Regions from separate parts of the Homo sapiens genome. Here all the other regions are linked to region 1. Evidence: promoter capture Hi-C in 16 types of primary human blood cells and fetal thymus (Javierre and others, 2016). All regions are on one chromosome and are shown on one strand. Each heading gives the region's core, a stretch centred on a gene start or on the middle of the fragment in contact. The rest is flanking DNA. Distances are from core to core; before and after follow the strand shown. Region 1 holds the start of SOST (sclerostin). Region 2 has its middle 11 kb from the start of MIR2117HG. Region 3 overlaps DHX8 (DEAH-box helicase 8).

Region 1 (3,479 bases), core at 469-2,968:
GGTCTGTGGGCTGGTTTGCATCCTCACCTCTGCAGGGCTGGAATGTGTGTGTGGTCAGGGGGGCATTTGCCCAGGGAAGGGGGCATTTTGCGGCTTTTCGAGAATAGCGCCCCTAGGCCAGGCACTTCCTCTGCAGATCATGACTTTGTTTTGAGCATGTGGCTTCCTCAGGGGCTGTGGCCTCTCGTGGGAGTCCAGCAAGGTGGACATTTTGTGTTTGGGTTCCTTACAGCCCTTCAGGCAGTCGCTGGAGCCCAGCTGACCTTGCCTAGAAGGGGAGCTGTGGGGGGAGGCGCCCTTGTCCTCCATTTTGAAGACGGAGGGTCCTGGCTGGCCTCCCATGCAGTTGCCCTTTTTAGCACCCCATAGTCCCAACAGGTTGTGAGGCGGGGAGGGCTGGGGTCCAGGAGCCTGGGCAGTGGACTTCTCTGCCACCTGGATAATGGCCAGAGGACAGGGAAGCTCTTAGTCTGAAGTGTCATTTCAGACGCCCCCATGGCCTCAGGATTCCTGCCAATTATAGAGCCAGATGCACACTGTCACCTGGGCTTCTCTGTGCAGGCCTGACCAGGAACCCAGGGTTCCTCTTCCTTCTCCCTCCCCTGGAATGAGGCAAGGTTGGGACTGGGGTGGCTGCTGAGGACAGATGTCCCTACTCCTGCACAGAGGATGCTGCTCTCCCCTCCAGGGCCTGGACTCAGCTGCACCCATGTCAGGGGCTAAAACTGTGCCGAAAACTCCCATTCCTTCAAGTGCCAGCTCCCTGGGCAGGCCGTGGGCAATGCACACTGCAGGGGTGCCTCTCTGGCCTTCCTCCCCACTGCTTTGTGGAGATCTGTCCCCCACACCCCCCCACACACCAGGGCTATCTTGCAGTTGGATCAAACCAGGTTCACACCTCAGCTCTTCTCACTACCAAGTTACTGAGTGCCTGGAACCTGTTTCTTCCCCTTCGAGCTGGGGGTTCACCTCCTGGGGATTCCATGATGTGGGTCTGTGTGGTGGGGACAGCCACCACCAGCATAGAGTGTCCGGTGCCCCACAGGTGCTGTTCTGTGGATGGGAGGCTCCCTTACCTTGTTCCCTTCCCAGTGGTACCAGCAGCTGGACGTGGCTCCTATATTCCCAGGAGGAGATTCTTTGAAACCTTTTCTTTTCTGAGCCCCTGAGCCTGTTCTGATGCCCTGATGCCATACCCTCACCACCCCAGCGTCCTCCCTGCCCTGGGCTCTCACCAGCGTCTGTTGCCTCATGCCTCTGCACCTGAATTTGAAGGCTGCACCAGCGAGCCATTCTTCCCCCACCTCCAGGCAAGACTGTTCCTCGACCAGTGCTGGCAGAGGCCAGCAATCTTCACTGGGTCTACCCCAGTCTTCCAAGCCTCCCAAAGAGAAGTTTCTAAAACCTCCCCAGGATCTTTTACTAAGAATTCTCTCCTCCACCCCATACCTTTGGTCTCAAAGGGGTGGTGGGGAGGCCGCCCTCCGTTCTCCGCCCGGTTCATGGTCTTGTTGTTCTCCAGCTCCGGTGGAGGCTCGGGGTACTCTCCGAGCTCGGGGATGATTTCCGTGGCATCATTCTTGAACGCCTGCCACCCCTGGCCCTCCACTACACGGAAGGCTGTGTGTACCAGCAGGCAGACGAGACACAGGGCCAGTGGGAGCTGCATGGTACCAGCCAGAGGAGGGCACGCCACCTTCCAGTAGCACAGGCTCTGGTCTCCAGCCGAGACACGGTCGCCTTTTTAAAGCCCCTCTCTGCTTCATGCCAGCCAATGAGGACAGGCTGGGGCAGGGCTGGTCCCATGTTTCCCTCAGCCCCGGAGGGAGGGAAAGGGGTGTGCTCAGAGCAAACCCTCCCCAAAGACTTCTCCTCTAGCTCAGCAAACTTCCAAATTGCTGCTGGCACTCCCAGGTGACCCAGAGAGAGGGGGCGTGTGAGGCAAGGCCCAAGCCTGCTCTCCGGCACCTCCCACGTGCTGGCGGCTGTGGTTTTCAGATATCAAAATGAGCTCCGGCTTTTAATTGTCTGTCTCCCTGGGCCCTCGGGCATTCTCAAAACAAACTGTGGACCCGCTCAACAAAGAAAATGTGCAGTTCTGAGTGCTTCGCGGGGCTGAGCCCGGCCTATTCCATTTCTCAGGCCAAGTTCATTTGTCACCCCACCAACAAATGGCCCAAGGCGTTTCTGTTTGACCCCCATAGACCCAGCCAGAGGCAAAAAGATGCTTTTAAAGAAATCCCATTGGTCCCAACTCCACAAGTCTCAGCATTCATTGTCCTAACCAAGAAAGCCTCTCTTGGTATTCTCTGGAAGGCAAGAGAGAGAACTAGAGGGTCAGAGCAAGGGTGCCCGCTTGGGAGAGAGGGCAGGATTCTGGTTACAAATCGAGGATGCGCTGGTCACTCAGGCTCCTGTGGTGGACAGCACAGAGGAAATCCCAGCTCATGCTCCTCAGGGATCCTGTGCACTGTGACAGGCACTTCTGAGCCAGGGCACTCACTGTGGCTCGCAGGGTGATGTGCTGAAGACAGTCATTTCCCCAACCAGTCTGTGTGTGTGAGAAGACAACACCAAATTCCTTTCCTTAGCAAAAGCCACAGCCAGCGTTTTTAGTGCTGACATTTTATTTTCTTGTCTTCCAGCTGGTTACATTTTTCAAAAACAGTTTTGAGTCCTGTATGGAAAGCTTCATTGGTGCACACCACAGGATGTGTTCCATGAAGCCATCCCAGGACCAAGTGGTCACAAAGAAGCTAAGAGAAAATGCTGCCTTGGCCCTGCATATAATGAGCCACACAGGGCCGGGGCGGGGGGCGGGGGGGCAGGTAGAGGCGTGGGGGAGAAGGATTCACACCTGAGGTGCAAGAAGAGAAAGGAAGGCCAGAGGAATCTTTCATTGAAGACAGATTGTTTGAGGACAAGCAGCTCCTGTGAAGAGGCTGCCCAGATCCTCTGGTATTTTAACTGGGCAATGAATCAGCATGCCCCACCTGCAGAGCCTCTGCAAGTCCTTTGCCACCTGCCTCAACTTGCAAGTCGCTGTGTCCATCTGCAGCCGACTGTCCTCCTTTCCATCATCCATCATCCGACACATGAATGCAGCTGCTCTGACAGTTTTACAAGCCAGACAGAAGCCCCCTCAGGAAGGGCCCTCTCTGATACCTGCTTCCTAAGTCAGTTTCCTTCAGGGCAGATGAAAACAGCTGTGGCCATTGTTGGGGGTGATCTATCTCTCCCAGCAGAGCCGGTAGTGTTGTGAGAAGCTGGCCCTCCGCGCCACCTCCCCTTGTCTATGACCCTCCAGCCTCCTTTTCCCTTGCTCTGGAATGTGGACTGTTAACCCTCTCATGACCAGACGACTGCCTTCTTGCAATGGACTTGGGAGAGAGCAGTTCTGATGCCTGGGTTCCTTGAGCAGGTAGGATGGATGCTTATAGCCCCACCTGCTGTTGGGAGCGGCTGGACCGTCTGCATTA
Region 2 (3,479 bases), core at 387-2,886, 320 kb before region 1:
ACACTCATTCTCTCTTCTTTTTTTTTTTTTAAGATGGAGTTTTGCTCTTGATTCCCAGACTGGAGTGCAATGGCGCGATCTCGGCTCACTGCAACCTCTGCCTTCCAGGTTCAAATTATTCTCCTGCCTCAGCCTCCCAAGTAGTTGGGATTACAGGTATGTGCCGCCATGCTTGGCTAATTTTGTATTTTTAGTAGAGACGGGTTTCTCCATGTTGGTCAAAGTGGTCTCGAACTCCCGACCTCAGGTGATCCGCCCGCCTCAGCCTCCCAAAGTGCTAGGATTACACGTGTGAGCCACTGCACATGGCCTTTTTTTTTTTTTTTTAGACAAGTCTTGCTCTGTCACCCAGGCTGGAGTACACTGGGGCTATCTTGGCTCACAGCAACCTCTGCCTCCTGGGTTCAAGTGATTCTCCTGCCTCAGCCTCTCGAATAGCTGGGATTACAGGCGCAGGCCACCATGTTTGGCTAATTTTTGTATTTTTAGTAGAGACAGGGTTTCACCATGTTGGCCAGGCTGGTCTTGAACTCCTGACCTCAGGTTATCTGCCTGCCTTGGCTTCACAAAGTGCTGAGACTACAGGCAAGATACACCGCACCCAGCCATTCTCTCTTCTTGTTCAGGGAGGGTGACCCCTCCTCTGTGCCAAAGGATGAATCATGATTGGTTCAAACAATCATGGTAAATCATTTATCTTTGCCTATGATTTAAGAGTGGACACGTAGGCTGGGCACAGTGACTCACGCCTGTAATCCCCGTACTTTGGGAGGCTGTCGCGGCTGGATCATGAGGTCAGGTGTTTGAGACCAGCCTGGCCAACATAGTGAAACCCTGTCTCTACTAAAAATACAAAAATTAGCCGGGTGTGGTGACACGTGCCTGTAGTCCTCAGCTACTCGGGAGGCTGAGGCAGGAGAATCGCTTGAACCTGGGAGGCGATGCTTGCAGTGAGCTGAAATTCTGCCAGTGTACTCCAGCCTGGCTGACAGACTGAGACTCCGTCAAAAAAAAAAAAAAAATGATTAGACATGTGACATACTCCTTGCCAATGGAGCACAAACAGAAGTTTAGATGGGAGGCATTTCAGGAAACAAATGTGTGGGGAGAAGCTGCCTTTTATACCTTTAAACAAGATTTGAGGACATGGTGCCTGAAGCTGTAGAATCCATCTGCAGCTGAGCCTGGGGAGAAGTTGAACAGAGTCAGTCACAGTGATGCTGTCCTGAGCTTTGAGGTAGTTAAGCCAGTAAGTGAATCAATCCTGGACTGAACCTGCTATTCTCATTTTTGAGTTGCTATGAGTTGGGTTTTCTGCTACCTGCAGCTGAAAGCATTCCCAATGGTACATAGGGAGATACTAACATCTCCCATGACTTTGACTACCAGCTCTGCACTGTTGCTGCCAAAGTTTATGAGTTTAATTCAGATCTCTTACTTGTAGCATCATAGATGTCTTCACATGAATATCCCTCACACTTAAGATCTAAACAAAACCCCATCTGTATATCCTCTTATTCTCAGGCCAAGTCAACTGGCTTTCCATCATCCTGCAGTAATTTGTTCATACCTCTGTTAGAGCATTTGTCCCATGAGTTTGTTTGTTTAACTGTGTCTGTCTTCCCCTTTAGAATATAAATTCTCCTTTAGAACCTTTTTTTTTTTTTTTTGACAGAGTCTTGCTCTTGATCTGTCACCAGGCTGGAGTGCAGTGGCGCAATCTCGGCTCACTGCAACCTCCACCTCCTGGGTTCAAGCGATTCTACCACCTCAGCCTCCCAAGTAGCTGGGACTACAGGCGCCCAGCACCACATCCAGCTAATTTTTGTATTTTTAGTAGAGATGGGGTTTCACTATGTTGGCCAGGCTGGTTTGAATTTCCTGACCTCATGATCCGCCCACCTCGGCCTCCCAAAGTGCTGGAATTACAGGCATAAGCCACTGTGCCCAGCCTAGAACCTTATCACATCTTTAAATCCCTAGTATTAAGTAGAAGCTATTATATACTTGTTGAACAAATTAATTGGCAAATGTTCAGAATGTTCAGAGGTGTTCAACTGCAAGTAACACAATATCTAAAGACTAGTGACTTAAATTGTAAAGATGTTTACCTATCTCACAAAATGTGAACTTTGGAGTTACATTGTTCCAGGATTAGTTAAGCAGCTCATCAAAGTCAGGAAACTGAGTCAGAATATCTGAGATCCTCTTGGCTCAGAATCTCTGAGATTCTTCATTGTTGCAAAGTAGCTGCCACAACTCCAACATTACATCTTTGCACAACAATCTTCCAAGCAGGAAACAAGGGAAGCAGATCTTGGTGGCAGCAAAAGGGCTTCCACTTCACATACTTCTCTCTTTTTAGGGGGGTGCAAATCCTTCCAGAAACAACTCTCTGCATTGTTAACTGGAACTATGTTATGTATCCCCTTGGATCAATATCTGGCAAAGGGAACAGCAATGACCGAGATCGGCTTAGACCGATCTTGAGTCATTCCTGGTGCTGGTCATGTTGCTGTCTGACCAAAGGAGGATTCTGAATCAAGGTGGGAGAGTATCTACCGGATAGGTGATTAATGATACTTGCCCTTGATGTGGTTTCCTGAGTCCAAGCTCTTCCAGAACCCTCGCTGTTTCTTGGGCACTTCTGAGATACACATAGCTCTGTGGTCAGCCTGTTCCTTTATAGAACAATCCCTATATTCTCCATGTTTAGTGATCCATAGCAGAGGCTGATTATGTGCAGTTGTATAACTCTGTGAACTTGCTCTTTAGCAGGGCTAGTGCACACAGGAGTCAGTGTCAAGGGGAGGTGGATGGCGGCAACTTTGCTTGCCAAGCCACGCACCTTGGCATGGGGTTGTGTCTGTTTGGAGGTAGGAGTATCTTGTTGCAATTCTCACAAAGGCACTGTAATGGCTGTGGCTGCTCTGTCTTCCAGAAAGGCTGTACCAGCATGGTGAGTGTATAATGGACATGAGCATGGACATGGGATGGACATGAGAATGTTCATCTGTCTATACCCTCTCCATTACTAGGTATAATCACTCTAGAAAATCTTTAATAATCTTTTATCTGGTCCCCTTGGCTTTAGCCTTTCCCTATGCACTTGATATCTACTCCCAGATTTACCTTCCCCCAAATCTCAAAGCAGTTGCTTCCTTGCTTAAAATCTTCTGTTGACTGTCTTTTTTTGTGGGGGGGGACAGAGTATTGCTCTGTCACCCAGGCTGAAATGTAGTGGCGTGATCTCAGCTCACTGCAACCTCCACCTCTGGGTTTCAAGTGATTCTCCTGCCTTAGCCTCCGAGTAGCTGAGATTACAGGCACACACCACCATGCCCAGCTAATTTTTTGTATTTTTAGGAGAGACAGGGTTTCACCATTTTGGCCAGGCTGGTCTTGGACACCTGACCTCAAGTGATCTGCCCATCTCAGCCTCCAAAAGTGCTGAGATTACAGGCGTAAGCCACCCCACC
Region 3 (3,479 bases), core at 679-3,178, 260 kb before region 1:
TCATAGCTGCATGACATTGTTAGTGACAGGGAATTCACCAGCCCTTAAGGAGGTACATTTCATCATGAGATGGATCTGATCGCTAGTTCTTCTTTAGGCATACCTGAAACCTCGCTCACTGAAGTGTCCACATTGGTCTTGATTTTGGTTCCCAGGGTCATACAGAAAAATTCTTATACCTTTCTTATGTCCTTCATACGTTTAAAGGTAGCACATCATTCCTATCTCTTTTGGGGTTCTCATATTCAAACTAAACATCCAGTTCCTTCAATGATGTAACATTGTCCTTGTTCATTTTATCTGAATATGCTACGGTTTATCCATTTCTTTCATATAGTCTGTTACATTGATAAGAACTTTATTCCAGATGTAGTCTCATGTTTTAGATTACAGGAGCTTAACTTCTACATATTATTTCCCGGACATTTAATCCATGTTGTTTTTTCTTCTGTTGCACCAGAACCCAGACGGCTCCCTCTCCCAAGCAGCAATGATGCAGAGTGCCTTGGCCAAAGAAAGGCGGGAACTCAAACAGGCCCAGCGGGAAGCTGAGATGGATTCTATTCCCATGGGACTCAACAAACACTGGGTTGACCCTCTGCCTGATGGTAGGACCCTTGGAGGGGTGTATGGACCTTGTTTAAAAATCTGAGCCTTTCAGAACACAGGGAGGGGTCACTCCCGGCACACACTAAAAATTTACCCTTGGGCCGGGGCGGTGGCTCATGCCTGTAATCCCAGCACTTTGGGAGGCCAAGGCAGGTGGATCACCTGAGGTCAGGAGTTCGAGACCGACCTGGCCAACATGGTGAAACCAAGTCTCTACTAAAAAAATACAAAAGTTAGCCAGGCATGGTGGCACACACCTGTAATCCCAGCTACTCGGGAGGCTGAGGCAGGAGAATCGCTTAAACCCAGGAGGTGGAAGTTGCAGTGAGCTGAGATCAGGCAAGTGTACTCCAGCCTGGGTGATAGAATGACACTCCATCTCGAAAAAAAAATTTACCCTTGGTTTTTCACTTCAGTTAGAGCATGTTTGGTTTTTTCTTAAACACATGTTTAAAACCAAAAATGTTTTAATAGCCATGGTCAAATCATTAGACTGAGTTTTTCTTCTGAATCACTTTAAAAATGTTATTCTAGCGCGGTGTCTCATGCTGTAATCCCAGCACTTTGGGAGGCTGAGGCGGGCGGATCACAAGGTCAGGAGATCGAGACCATCCTGGCCAACATGGTGAAACCCCGTCTTTACTAAAAATACAAAAAATAGCCAGGTGTGGTGGTGCGCGCCTGTAGTCCCAGCTACTCGAGAGACTGAGGCAGGGGAATCGCTTGAACCCTGGAGGCGGAGGTTGCAGTGAGCCAAGATCGCGCCACTGCACTCCAGCCTGGCTACAGAGTGAGACTCCGTCTCAAAAAAAAAATTTTTATTCTAAAGGTAATACAGCTTTGAAGCTTCCTTTTTCATATAATTCTTTGTGCAGTAAATATTAGCTACTAGATATAGTCATAACAAATACTTATTAATTTAATTTGTGTTTGGCAACTGGGGATACGATTTGAATTAAACAGATATGATCCCTGCTTTTATGCGCTACAACTTAGTCGGGGATATGGATATTAATTAAATAATCACCAAATAATTAAATTATGATCAGTGCCATGTGAAGAAGTACAGGCAGTGTAATTGACTGTGGTGGGTCACTTCCCTGGGGAAATCGAGACCCAAAGGATAAATTGGACTCAGTCTGTCAAGTGGAGATGGGATGGAGGTTGGGGAGTATGTTCCAGCCTGAGGAGTAGCCCGTGTTGGGTTTGTGGGGTGGGAAAGAAGGAACTGAAAGAAGGCTTGTGTGGATGGAATAGAGAGAGCAGTGGGCAGTGGTAGGGGATGAGATAAGAACATCAGGCCAGGGCTTTGTAGGTGGCATTAGGAAGCTGGGCTCAATTCTAATAGCACTGGGAGATGTTGAAAAGTTCTTTTGTTGTTGTTGTTTTTGTTTCTGAGACAGAGTTTTGCTCTTGTTGCCTAGGCTGGAGTGCAACACCATGATCTTGACTCACTGCAACCTCCACCTCCCTGGTTCAAGTGATTCTCCTGCCTCAGACTCCCAGGTAGCTGGGATTACAGGCATGCACCACCACGCCTAGCTAATTTTTTGTATTTTTAGTAGAGACGAGGTTCCTCCATGTTGGTCAGGCTGGTCTCGAACTCGCGACCTCAGGTGATCCCCCCCCCATCTCAGCCTCCCAAAGTGCCGGGATTACAAGTGTGAGCCACCGTGCCCAGCCAGATGTTGAAAGTTTGCAGCTGGCACATGGCATGACCAGAGTTGCATTTCCAAAGGATGATTGAGGGTGCCCTGCAGAATGAGTTGGATGGGGCACATGTGATGATTTAGAAAGCTTTTATGAAGAGAGAGAATGGTGGCTTGAACATGGAGGTAGCAAAGAGGAGGGATGTACTTGAGAAAAGTAATTTGTTGAATGTGGGGCAACAGGAATGGTCAAAGATGACTTCCAGGTTTCTGGTATGAGCACTAGGATGAATGATGGGAACACTGGAGGAGAAATGGGTTTGTGGGGAAAGATGGTCAAATTCCGTTTTGGACTTGTGTCCGAGGCAACTAGAGGACATCTTAGGTTGAGGTATCCAGTGTAGAATTGAGTATAAGAGCTCAGAAGAGAGGTCTGGGCTGGAGACAGAAGTTTGGGAATTGTGTTAATTTAGATATCAGTTTGGCTGCATGTAATAGAGATTCAAATATTAGATTAGGTTCGGCATGATGGCTCACGCCTGTAATCCCAACACTTTGGGAGGCCGAGGCAGGAGAATTGCTTGAGGCCAGGAGTTCAAGACCAGTCTGGGCAACATAGTAAGACCTTATCTGTATTTTATTTTATTTTGTTTTGTTTTGTTATTTTAGTTTAGTTTAGTTTAGTTTTTGAGATGGAGTCTCACTATGTTGCCCCAGCTGGAGTGCAGTGGTGCAGTCTTGGCTCACTGCAACCTCTGCCTCCTGGGTTCAAGCGATTCTCCTGCCTCAGCCTCAAGTAGCTGGGACTACAGGTGACCGCCACCACGCACGAGTAATTATTTTGCATTTTTGGTAGAGACAGCGTTTCACCATGTTGGTCAGGCTGGTCTCGAACTTCTGACCTCAAATGATCTTGCCCACCTTGGCCTCCCAAAGTGCTGGGATTACTGGTGAGCCACCGTGCCTAGCCCTTGTCTCTATTTTAAAATTAAATTTTTAAAAACGACAAAAATAAAAACCAAAATATTAGATTTACAGTAGAAGGTTGGACATATTCGTTCATTGTTTAACAATATCATCTTCCATTTCCTCAGAATAAACCCATTCATTCCCTTTTACCCTTTAGTGAAATGTTCTCCATGACCCTCCTTTGGCCTCTGCCTAAGCTCACTTATTTGGTTAGTAGGCATAAGTATTTTTTCGTAGCCAGCTTTTGGCATC

What was found. Contacts are between HindIII fragments. The CHiCAGO score rates a contact against its expected background, and 5 or more counts as called.
Region 2: a contact is called between a fragment that was not itself captured here and the fragment with the promoter of SOST in region 1, in 1 of 17 cell types (erythroblasts). The highest score is 5.1, in erythroblasts.
Region 3: a contact is called between a fragment that was not itself captured here and the fragment with the promoter of SOST in region 1, in 3 of 17 cell types (M1 macrophages, endothelial precursors and M2 macrophages). The highest score is 7.0, in M1 macrophages.

What each region holds. Positions count from the first base shown.
Region 1 is chr17:43,757,073-43,760,551 of GRCh38, forward strand. SOST (sclerostin) reads right to left here and starts at 1,719. Exons shown (of 2, transcript NM_025237.3): 1 at 1,450-1,719. The coding sequence starts at 1,669. RefSeq lists a silencer at 3,369-3,479. The HindIII fragment of the contact is 6,420 bases long and covers 1-2,687 here.
Region 2 is chr17:43,432,391-43,435,869 of GRCh38, forward strand. No RefSeq gene overlaps it. Among named protein-coding and RNA genes, the nearest start is that of MIR2117HG, 11 kb to the right of the region's middle. The HindIII fragment of the contact is 4,796 bases long and covers 1-3,479 here.
Region 3 is chr17:43,499,496-43,502,974 of GRCh38, forward strand. DHX8 (DEAH-box helicase 8) reads left to right here. Exons shown (of 23, transcript NM_004941.3): 11 at 461-608. Among named protein-coding and RNA genes, the nearest start is that of DHX8, 17 kb to the left of the region's middle. The HindIII fragment of the contact is 951 bases long and covers 1,454-2,404 here.